Regions from separate parts of the Homo sapiens genome. Here all the other regions are linked to region 1. The links are contacts of gene promoters, found by promoter capture Hi-C in human tissues and cell types (Jung and others, 2019). All regions are on one chromosome and are shown on one strand. Each heading gives the region's core, a stretch centred on a gene start or on the middle of the fragment in contact. The rest is flanking DNA. Distances are from core to core; before and after follow the strand shown. Region 1 holds the start of ZNF71 (zinc finger protein 71). Region 2 holds the start of ZNF606 (zinc finger protein 606). Region 3 holds the start of ZNF134 (zinc finger protein 134).

Region 1 (3,434 bases), core at 264-2,763:
AGGGATCTCCCATTTGTCTGGTGGTTAATTGTGGGGGCTCTGGAACCTGGATGCCTGAGGTAGCCTTGGGTGAGTCACTTAGTCTGAGACTCAGTTTCCCCATCTGTAAGATAAGGATGATGATGGTCTCTACCTCAGAGTTACTGGGACATCTATAAATGGCCAGCACTGGCTGCATACACATTCCCTGAACAAATCAACCTCTCCTTGGTCAGAACAGAGTAGGGCACAGAGACCCTTTGGGAGTCTGATCCCACTTTAAGAAGATCCTGTGGGAGGCAGAAGAAACAGCCTTCCTTTTCCCCTCCTCCACCCGGCCCCTGTCACTCCCAGGCCCCTACGCCTCCAGAGCCTTCTATGGGCAGGAAAAAGCCAGGGAACTGTGGGCAGGCAGACTAGGAGAAGCGTAGGGTGAGAAGGTAGTGGCTCTGCTAGGCTCCCTTGTCCAGGCATATAGTCTTTGGAAGAGGCACACCCAGACGCACCCACCCCTGCAGAGTCACACGCAAACATCAAGAAATACTCTAGACACAGGTGGACACACAGAGATAGGAAAGATCCAGACAGGACTGGCCCCTGGAAAGACACAGCCCTACACTCATGCCAAGAGACATGCATGGAAAGAGCAGACATAGTGGACACCCAGAGGGCACCCTCCCACAGAGACACTCATGGACAGAGATCAAGGCTGACACACCCACAACACCAAAGACAAGGACACAGGCAGTCACTCAGAGATATCACCACACATGCATAGGCAGAGACCTGGAGAGACACAGCTCCACAGAGAGACCAAGACTCTGAAGAAGTGGGACACACACACACACACGCTACCACACATGACCCACACGGACATACATGGACACATTCACATTCATTCACAGACCCAGCCTCTGGACGACACGCAGTTTCTCTCTCTGTCTCATACACACACACACACACACACACACACACACACACAAACACACACACACAATCACAATATCCAGAGACACAGCCATACCCTCAGGACGACACAATCTGTCTCACACACACATACAGACCCACACAGACACACACACAGACACATTCACAATATCCACAAAGACACAGCCTCATCCTCAGGATGATATGCACTGCCTGTCTCTCACACAGGCCACCTTCCCCCCAGGATGGCCCTCGTGTTCATGCAACTTTCCTACCTCCAACCCACTCACGCCTCTCCCTCCCTGGCCCCGGCCTCTCCTCAGCCCCTCAGCCTCCAGTCAGCCTCTCCTTAGCCCCTCAGCTTCCCCTCAGCCTCTCCTCGGCCGCTCAGCCTCTCCAGGCGCACCTCGGTCCCGGCCTGCACGCCCTCTCCTGCGCCCGCACGCCCTGGACCAGCACCCAGCCCTGCACTCCCCGTACCTGGGCCTGCACGCCGTCTCCCCGAGGCCGCGCCCTCCCCGGGGCCAGGTTCCGGCCCCCGGCACAGGTAGAGGGTGGGCGCGACCCCGCAGCCACACTCACCGGCTCGCCGCTCTGCCAGGACAATGACCGCGCCCGCTAGGCCCGCCCGACGGCAGTGCGCCTGCGCGGACTGCGCCGGACTACGCTTCCCAGAAACCCGCGCGCGCCACCTCCCCCCGGCTTTTTTCAGCCGAGCCCAGCCGAGTGGAGCCGAGCGGAGCCAACTGAGCTCCTCCATCTCACAGAGGACTCCGCGGCCAAGGAGGCTGGGGCGAGAGGGAGGATTGAGGGGGAGGAGGCAGGGAAAGGGAAGGAGAGAGAAGAGACGGAGGGAGGAAGGGTGGAAAGAAAGACGGAGGGAAAGGAGGGGCGAGGAGGAGGGACAGGAGGGAAGGGGGGAGGAGGGAGAAAAGAAGTAGGAGAGGTGGGAAGAAGGATGGAAGGGGAGGAGGGATGGGGAGGAGCGGGGAGAAGAGAGAGGATGGAGAGGGACTTGGGGAGGAGAGCTGGGGAGGAAGAAGAAGAGATGGAGAAGGAGGAGGGGTTGGAAGAAGGATGGAGGGGAAGGAGGAAGGGCTGGGGAGAGACTAAGGGAAAAGAACAGGTCAGAGAGGAGAGGAACCAACAGAAAGAAGAGGGAGCGGGTGGGAGGAGGGAGGGGCAGGGAGGCAGGAAAGGAAGAGAATGGAGACGGCAAGGAGGAGAAGGAAGAAAGGGTGGAAAGGGGGATGAGAAGGTGGAAAGGACTATAAGGAAGAAGAAAAGGGTGGGAAAAGGAGGAAAGAAAGAGGAAGTCGAGTTGGGGAGGGCAGGACAGGCTGAAGAGAGGAAAGAATGGGTAAGGAGAGGGAGGAGGGAGGAAGGAAAACAGAAAAGGACAAGGGATGGGTGGAGGCAGAGAAATGAGGGGGATAAAAGAGGCGTGTCACATCTGCTGCAGACATTTCTGCAGTCCAGCCAATGGACTGGCCTGAGGGACCATCCCAGGCAACTTTAAACCTGATAATCATGCTTATCTTTAAAGAACACTTTTTAAGCATACAGATGTGCAAAGAAGAAAATGAGCATAGGTGTAGAATAAAATGTATAGGAGACTATCGGTTTGGACTGAGTTCCTGCACTAGGCCCAACAGATCAAATCGAAATGGAGCTACTCATGCTGAAGTTCCAGGCCACCAACTCCAACTAAGTTGTTACCTGACCTCCTCTCAGGAGAGAAAGAGAGAGATAATAGCCAAGTCCCAAACAGGCCAGTTTAGCAGGCATGATAAAAGAAATCCCCTTTGCTTTAACCATGATAGGGAAAGTAACTTTGAAATGACCCATCCACTCTTGTTCTCTGTTTCTGCTTTCCTCAGCCCGTTTCTGTGTATGAAGCCATATTCCTCTGCTTGGATCACCAGAACACTAGTTCTATTTTATAGAAGGAGGTGTGGCTGGATTCTAGAATTGCAAATAAAAAACAACTAGATCTTTAAATGTCAATTCCCTATATCTTTAGATATAAGAAAAAAAGCATTAATCCTTGTTGTGAGTTTCCTTTGTTCTGACCCCTGGTCTCCACATTTTATGATTTATAAACAATCTTCACAGCCAAGCTACTTTCCAGATTAGTTGGGTAATACAGACAGGGGAGCTTACACAAGAGGAAAGGTAGGAACCAGATGCCTGGCTGAGACCCTTTTCTATAGTAAACCACAAAGCCAAGTTTAAAAACATTTGCTGAATGTCCAAGTGGCCACAAAACCATCAACAGCAGCTAGCCTTAGGTGGTGATTAATGATGTATTTAAATGAAATATTTTATTCTGAGATAAATGTGGATTTATTCACGTCAGGTTGTAAAACATAATATAGAAATCATACAGAGAGACCTATGTCTCTTAGGTAATTTCACCCAAGGGCAACATCTTGCAATATCACAAGTAGGATACTGACGTCGGTCCATTCAAGAGACAGAACATTTCCATCACAAGGATCTCTTCCGATATTTCCACAAGGATCCTT
Region 2 (3,434 bases), core at 365-2,864, 1.4 Mb before region 1:
TTCTTACTTCTGTCACTCTTCCTTCTCCAGCCTCTCTTTCTCTGCTTGATCCTGAGATGGAAATTGTGGCTGTACCATCCATAGATTGCTTTCCTCTCAGTGCCCACTCTGACTGGGTTCACCTTCCTGCCAGCTGGGGCCTGTCCCAACACCTTGCCCCTTCCACCTTACCTCTCTCATGGTCCTCTCCCTCGAATTCAGCCTGTCCTACTTGAAATTTTCCTCTCCCTTGAATTCAGCCTGTCCTACTTGAACTTTTCCTCTCCCTCTGAAAGGGCTACTCCCCTTTGCCCACCCACAGTGAGTGCCAACACCACCCAACAACAAAAGCCCAACCCACAGGCCAGCTTTTTAAAATGATCCTCCATTACTAGTGGAAATATCTTCAAAATCTCTCTTGCCCACTGCTCACTCAAGTCTAGCTTCCTAAATGGCCATGCTTTCTTTGGTATCACCACCTACAGTCCCTCAGTCCCTTTTTTTGAGACAGAGTCTTGCCCTGCTGCCCAGGCTGGAGTGCAATGGCTTGATCTCGGCTTACTGTAGCCTCCGCTTCCCGGGTTCAAGCGATTCTCCTGCCTCAGCCTCCCAAGTAGCTGGGTACAGGTGCCCTCCACCAAGCCCGGCTAATTTTTGGTATTTTTAGTAGAGACGAGGTTTTATCATGTTGCCCAGACTGGTCTCGGAACTCCTGACCTCAGGCGATCCACCTGCCTTGGCCTCCCAAAGTGCTGGGATTACAGCTGTGAGCCACCGCGCCCGGCCCGTTTTTGTTTGTTTTAATGCCGGGTCTTGCTCTGTTGCCCAGGCTGAAGTGCAGTGGTGCGATCATAGCTCACTGCAACCTTGACCTCCCAGGCTCAAGCAATCCTTCCACCGCAACCTCCTAAGTAGCGGGGACTACAGGCGCGCGCCATCACACCGGGCTAATTTTTGTATTTTTTTTGTAGAGATGTGGTCTCGCTATGTTGCCCAGGGTGGTGTCGAACTCCTGAACTCAACTGATCCTCCCGCCACAGCTTCCCGAAGTGCTGGGACTACAGGAATGAGCCACCGCTCCCGAACCGCTCCATGCATATCGATAGAGGAAAACTCACAGGGTGCGTCGCTGGTAACCCATGCTCCCATAAAGCCTGGCCTCTGGAAAGAGACTTGGGAACGAGCCCTGACGTTCTCAGCCGTCGAGCTTCACAGAGAAGGGTAGCTCGAATTAGGTTCCTTATCTTAAAGAGAATAACAGCAGTCACTTTCTCACAATCTTGCGAACGCCAAATGGAAGGATCCCTCGAGAGCGCTGAGAACTCGCCGAGCTCCTCCCGGGAAACCCGGTACCACGAGGCGCCATTTTGCGGATGGGCAAACCGAGGCCCGCGGGGCCGCGACTTACCCAGGCCTTTTTGCAGTGGGAGGCGACGGTGGAGGAGGGTGGTCTGGGACCGGGACAACAAAGTCCATCCTGCCGCCGGCTTCGACGCAGGTGCCAGAAAGGTCCCAACCCCGCCCAGGCAGGGCGAGGCGGCGCGGCCCAGGAACCTGTCATGGCGGCGCCGCTGCCCGACGCCGGAAGTGCCCGCCTGGAACTACAGCTCCCAGCAGACCCCGCGGCGCGCTCCGGTCGACGCCGGGGAAGCAGCCGCCATTGTCCGCGGCTGAGGTGAGGCCTTTGCTCAGGCTGTGGGGCCGCCGTAGCTGCGGGGCTTGGGGGGTCAGGAGAGCCGGCTGGGAGAGGCGGCGTCAGGGTGGGTCCTGCGCCTGCCCTTTCCGCGCCGGCTTTGCGCCGTCGTTGCCGTCGGTTCTCCAGCCAGCAGCCTGCCTCCGGCCTCCCGCCTCCGGGCGTTCTTCGTTTTCTGGTCGGACGGGCCTGGGTGAACTCTGCTGCACGTCGGCTCCGCGGGCCTTTGTCCCCGAGGCCGCGCCGGGAGCTCCCAAGCGCACTCCTGGGCCGGACCTCGGCGCGGGACAAAAGCCAAACGCCCCAGGCGGGCAGACCCCGATCCTGCTGCGCCGCCTTCAAGGGGGACCGCCGGCCGCGAGCCAGGTGAGGCCGGGACGAGCTTTTGCAGCGTCGCGGCCGCGTCGGTCTTGAGGAGGAAATTTGGGTCGGGAGCTCTGGAAGCAGGTGATAAGGATGCTTCTGAGGCCATTGATGGGACGAATAACCCCGTTCGTTCCCCAGCCGTCGTTTCTCCCCCTGCCAGTTCACACAAAGCACTGTGAAGGACGTCAGACCTGGGTTGGAAACAGCTCCGGGTTCCCTTAAACATGCAGTGACGGCGGCGGTCACTGTCAAGTTGCAAATAATGGTGCAAAGTACGGTTTGCATTCTGCGTTTTCGCGCTGATTCCGGTGCTCCTGAGGCCCACTGTGTGTTCTAGTGCTTTATACACATACCCAGGAATCCATTCGAGAGGTTGCTGACTTGTACAAAGATCTGGAACCTGAGGAGTTAGGGGTCTGGGCGCCAGGCCCATCTCTAAGTCCTCCACACACACACAAGCTTAGGCTTAGTAAATCTTGGAGGTGAATTTTTTTTGGAGGTGGGATTAAATTTGCATAACATAATGTTCACTTTAAGCACTTAAAAGTGTGCAATTCACCGGTTTTATTGTATATTAATAAAGTTGTGCAATCATCCCCATTATCTAATTTTAGAACATTTCATCACCCCACAAAGAAACCCTTGTTCCCCTTAAGCAGTCACTCCCCATTTCATTTTTCCCCCAGCTCTAGGCAACCACTAATATATGAGGATTGCAAGTTGATTTTACAATAATTGTCAGATTAATCCAAAAGTTCCATCTGTGTTGTGACTGGCTGTCTCTTGGGAATAGCTGACAAATTTGTACCCTCTCATTCAGGATCATGCTCTTTTTTCCAGCTTATGCAAATTACCTTTCATTTCTCTCCAGGAATTGTGTTACTTTTTTGACATGTAAATTCTCTTTTCTTACGATGCTCCTTACAAGTTTTTTTGTTGCTTCGGTGGATGGATTCCCTTCTTTGTTCCCACTTGGTCTTCTGTGAGAAAGGACTAGTTTTGTCTTTTTTCACTTTTGTCACTAGGTTGGGATTTGCTGTGTTCCTGGGCAGGTGCCTGGTCAATCAGTCCTCGGGATGGCAGCCATCAACCCGTGGGCCTCCTGGGGTGAGTCCAAGTTGTGTTTCTCCTGGGCCTCCCCTATCATTAGCTGCTGCAGTCATGGGTCAGAGCTGGTGATGGGCTGAGGACTTTTGAGGATGGAAGGGGGTCTGTCTATCTTGGTACAAAATTAGAACTGATTGGTGGTAAAGGAGGAAAATTGTTGGCATAAAAGACACTAACTTTTATGTTTTATAGTCATCTCCTGAGAGGTGTCATTAGTTTTAAGGGATTTTTCTGGTGGTTTGTGGGGTTTCCTAAACAACAGTGATACATATAATAAAATATTGTCTCT
Region 3 (3,434 bases), core at 466-2,965, 1.0 Mb before region 1:
CTTCAAAGGTTTAGCCTGTTAACTTCCTTGTTCTTTGTTCTCAAACCTTTCTTGTTCTCCATGCCTCCTTGCCCCTAGTTACTATAAACAACCTTCCTGTAAGCACTAACCAATAATTCACATCTGTTCCCTTACTCACTTTGCACCCATTGCCCCCGCCAAAACCACACGTCCTACACAACTCACATGTCCCACCACTGTAACTCACCTTCCCCTTCCCTCTTCCTTATTTGGAAAATACTCACAAATACCCAATTGGCTCAGCTTAGATTAAGCGGTCCGACCCCAGCCCATGGGGGAGTGACACAGAGGAAGGTAGGGACTATGGGTTAGAGATAAAAACCCCTTCCCTCCTTTGTTCAGTGTGCTCTTGGGATCGTGATTAACACAGGCAGCACACTTGCACAGAAGTAAATTGCCTTGCTGAGAAAACTTTTGCCTGAGTGCTGGTTTCACTTTGCAGCACCAAGCATTGACTTCCAACAACACCATCTAGAATGCTTTCACATGCCAGGACCCCTCCTTTCTGGAAGGAATCTTAAGTGTCCACCCCTTCATCCCTGGCCTTCCACCCTAAACCCACCTCTCACTTCAGAGACCACACAAAATAACTTCCTTGAAATTCCACCCTCTAAATCTGATCTACTACAGGCTTTGACCTTATGCCTCACCCATTGAAGTCTCTAGCACAACTCCCTCTCTAGAACCCCAGACCTGCATGTTCAGCTACCCGTGATGAACCTCCAGTGCAGAACACCTTAGATTCACCAAGTCCAAAACCCAATTCCTGATGCCCCTGAAACGTGCTCCCTGCTGTGACTTACCAATTTCCATTCTTTCACACGTTCAGGAAGGAAAACAGGCCAAAAAAACCCTGGATAGCCCTTTCCTCCCTACATTCACTCACGACCACATCTGATGCGGCAGGAAACCCCATTGGTTCCATCTTTAAAAATCTACCCAGAATCTCATGACTTCCCCACCCAACCCCTCCTGCCACTGCTCTGGCCCAGCCACCACCGCAACACTTCTGGAGTTTGTTGCAGGGACCTCCTCAAACGTCTCCTTGCCTCCATCCTCATCGTTTCTACCTCACTGTAGTCGGTTTCCTCCTCAGCAAACATTGGAATACTTTAAAAATCCTTTTTCGGATCCCTTCCCTCCACCATTCAAAACCCGCCATGGCTCCTATCGTCCTCGCAATGAAGGAGCAACTTCTCCCCTCGACATTGCAGGCCTGACTACGGTTCACACACGCTCCCGACTGCTACGGGCTCAGTCCAGCTCCAAACCTATGCTCAGGCTGCCCCTCTGCCAGTCACACTCGCCCCCACCCACCAGCGCCCCGCTGCCTTGGACACTGGGGCCTGCGCTGCAGGGACTCAGACAGGCGCTCCTCATTTGGAACTTCAGGATTTGGGGCGGGCGAAAGTCTGGGAAAGGCAGCACCCACCTGCGCCGGGCCCATCACCGCGGCCGCCGCCATCACAGTTCGTAGACCACCCGGAGCCGCGAGGGGGTCCCAGGTCGCGGGACCCTGGCACCGCGGTCGTCCGTCCCCGGGGGCGCAGGCGGGGTCTTCGCTGGCGAGCCACTCCGCAGAGCGAACAGCGACTTCTCCCGCACCCTCCCGCTTCCGTCACCTCGGAACCGCCCAGCAACCCCGAGCTTCTGCTCCGATGGTTCCACCTAAGAGCCGACAAGATGTCCACCGCGAGGAAGATACCGGAAGTCCCGCCCAGAGAGCTTCCGTCCGCAGGGAGACGCCCCTAAGAGTGCCGCCGCCGGGCGGCGCACAGGTTTCTGGGCAATGCAGTTCTCATGTGCACTTGGCCGTGGTGACGGCTAACTCCCCTGCACGCTGGGCAAAGGCCAAATGGTACTGCGAGGGGCGCTGAGAAATTATGCCCTGAGACTCTGAGGTCAGGGCGTGGCTTCGCTCCTTTTAAAGGACCCTCAACCAGGTCTTGTGTAGTGAGGTCTGCAGGGATCCCCGAAATATTGGGATATATTCTTACAGATGTTCCCTGAAGCCACACCACCAAATGGACACACAACATCCAATGTCACTCTGAGTCCACTCATAGTTCAGTCAAATTTCCTTCATTTAAAAAATATGTGTACTGTAGAGGGAAGCTTTGAGTCAGTTTTGTGAGCCTCAGTTGGGTCAGAGTTAACAGAGAATTGTCCCCAGGCAGGGCCATGGAGTGGAAGAATGGTCTCCAGACAGTGGCTATGGAGGGATGCTGGAGCTCCCTGAGGCAAGTGGACTAATATAGAGCTCTTCCTCTGGTTTCCTCAGAAAAAAAATACCTGAGAGAACCATGAGGAGGAAGACAGGCGAGAGAAGGTGGTCAAGGAAGGCACCTTTCCTGCCTGTATGGTCACTAATGTCCAACCAAAGGAGAAATATTCTTTTATCCAAATGAGAGTTCCTAGCCCAAAAGTTGAGATATATCTATTTCCTTTTGGTGATGTTTCTTATCTGAAAAGAAGAACCATTATAAATGCTTTTATATGCCAAGACAGGGGCTGAAAATGTGGTGTCTGAACCCAGAAATAAAGATTTGGAAAATTGGGATCAGATTTCTTGGCTGGGAGGTGATTCTCATTTCACCTGCAATTACACCGACAGTGTCTGAATTGAGAATTGAGATTTATTTATGGTTTTAAAAAAGAAAAGGGCGAGTGTATGGGGAAAGAAAGACAAAAACATTTGTGAATTGTTTAAATTACTCAAAAGTTGTTTTGTGTTTTTTTTTTTTGAGACGGAGTCTTGCTCAGTCGCCCAGGCTGGAGTGCAGTGGTGCGACCATAGCTCACTGCAGGCTCCGCCTCCCAGGTTCACACTATTCTCCTGCCTCAGCCTCCGGAGTAGCTGGGATTACAGGCGCCTGCCACCATGCCCGGCTAACTTTTTGTATTTTTAGTAGAGATGGGGTTTCACCGTGTTAGCCAGGATGGTCTCGATCTCCTGACCTCGTGATCTGCCCGCCTCAGCCTCCCAAAGTGCTGGGATTACAGGAGAGCCCCCGCGCCCGGCCAAATTACTCAAAGTTAATAATTCTGTAGTTATTCACAGATACATGACGAAATGGACCTGGAGAAACATATCTGTGATAAGTGAAAACGGTTAAGATGACAGCAAAATTTGAGCAGGAGACATTGAATTCTGAGAAGTGAGCAAATGAAGCTGAGCACACAGCTGTGTTAGAACTATGACTACAAGCAGCGTTTAGTCTCCAAAATGTAATTTTATTTATTTATTTAATTTTGGAGACAGGATCTCACTGTGTTGCACAGGCTGGAGTGTAGTGGCACGATCATAGCTTGCTGCAGCCTCAAACTCTTGGGCTCAAGGGATCCTCCCACCTCAGCCTCCCAAAAAGTTGGGATTACAGATGTGAGCCACCATGCCAGGCCTCTTTTCATTC

The links. The method cuts DNA at HindIII sites, captures the fragments that hold promoters and counts their contacts. A contact is called where the count stands out against the background at its distance.
Region 2: a contact is called between the fragment with the promoter of ZNF606 here and the fragment with the promoter of ZNF71 in region 1, in 1 of the 25 tissues and cell types used here (spleen).
Region 3: the fragment with the promoter of ZNF134 here is called in contact with the fragment with the promoter of ZNF71 in region 1 in 1 of the 25 tissues and cell types used here (dorsolateral prefrontal cortex).

Annotation. Positions count from the first base shown.
Region 1 is chr19:56,593,381-56,596,814 of GRCh38, reverse strand. It overlaps ZNF71 (zinc finger protein 71), which reads right to left and starts at 1,513. Exons shown (of 4, transcript NM_001370215.1): 1 at 1,387-1,513. ZNF71-SMIM17 (ZNF71-SMIM17 readthrough (NMD candidate)) reads right to left here and starts at 1,513. Exons shown (of 5, transcript NR_163263.1): 1 at 1,387-1,513. RefSeq lists a silencer at 1,162-1,551. The HindIII fragment of the contact is 26,997 bases long and covers 1-3,434 here.
Region 2 is chr19:58,001,000-58,004,433 of GRCh38, reverse strand. ZNF606 (zinc finger protein 606) reads left to right here and starts at 1,614. Exons shown (of 7, transcript NM_001348022.3): 1 at 1,614-2,038; 2 at 3,064-3,145. The coding sequence starts at 3,115. It overlaps ZNF606-AS1 (ZNF606 antisense RNA 1), which reads right to left and starts at 1,540. Exons shown (of 4, transcript NR_036508.1): 1 at 1,388-1,540; 2 at 1,098-1,223; 3 at 1-51. RefSeq lists an enhancer at 1,263-1,682. The HindIII fragment of the contact is 28,319 bases long and covers 1-3,434 here.
Region 3 is chr19:57,612,523-57,615,956 of GRCh38, reverse strand. ZNF134 (zinc finger protein 134) reads right to left here and starts at 1,715. Exons shown (of 3, transcript NM_003435.5): 1 at 1,454-1,715. It also overlaps a transcript of ZNF530 not described here. RefSeq lists a silencer at 1,461-1,510 and an enhancer at 1,641-1,820. The HindIII fragment of the contact is 8,655 bases long and covers 1-3,434 here.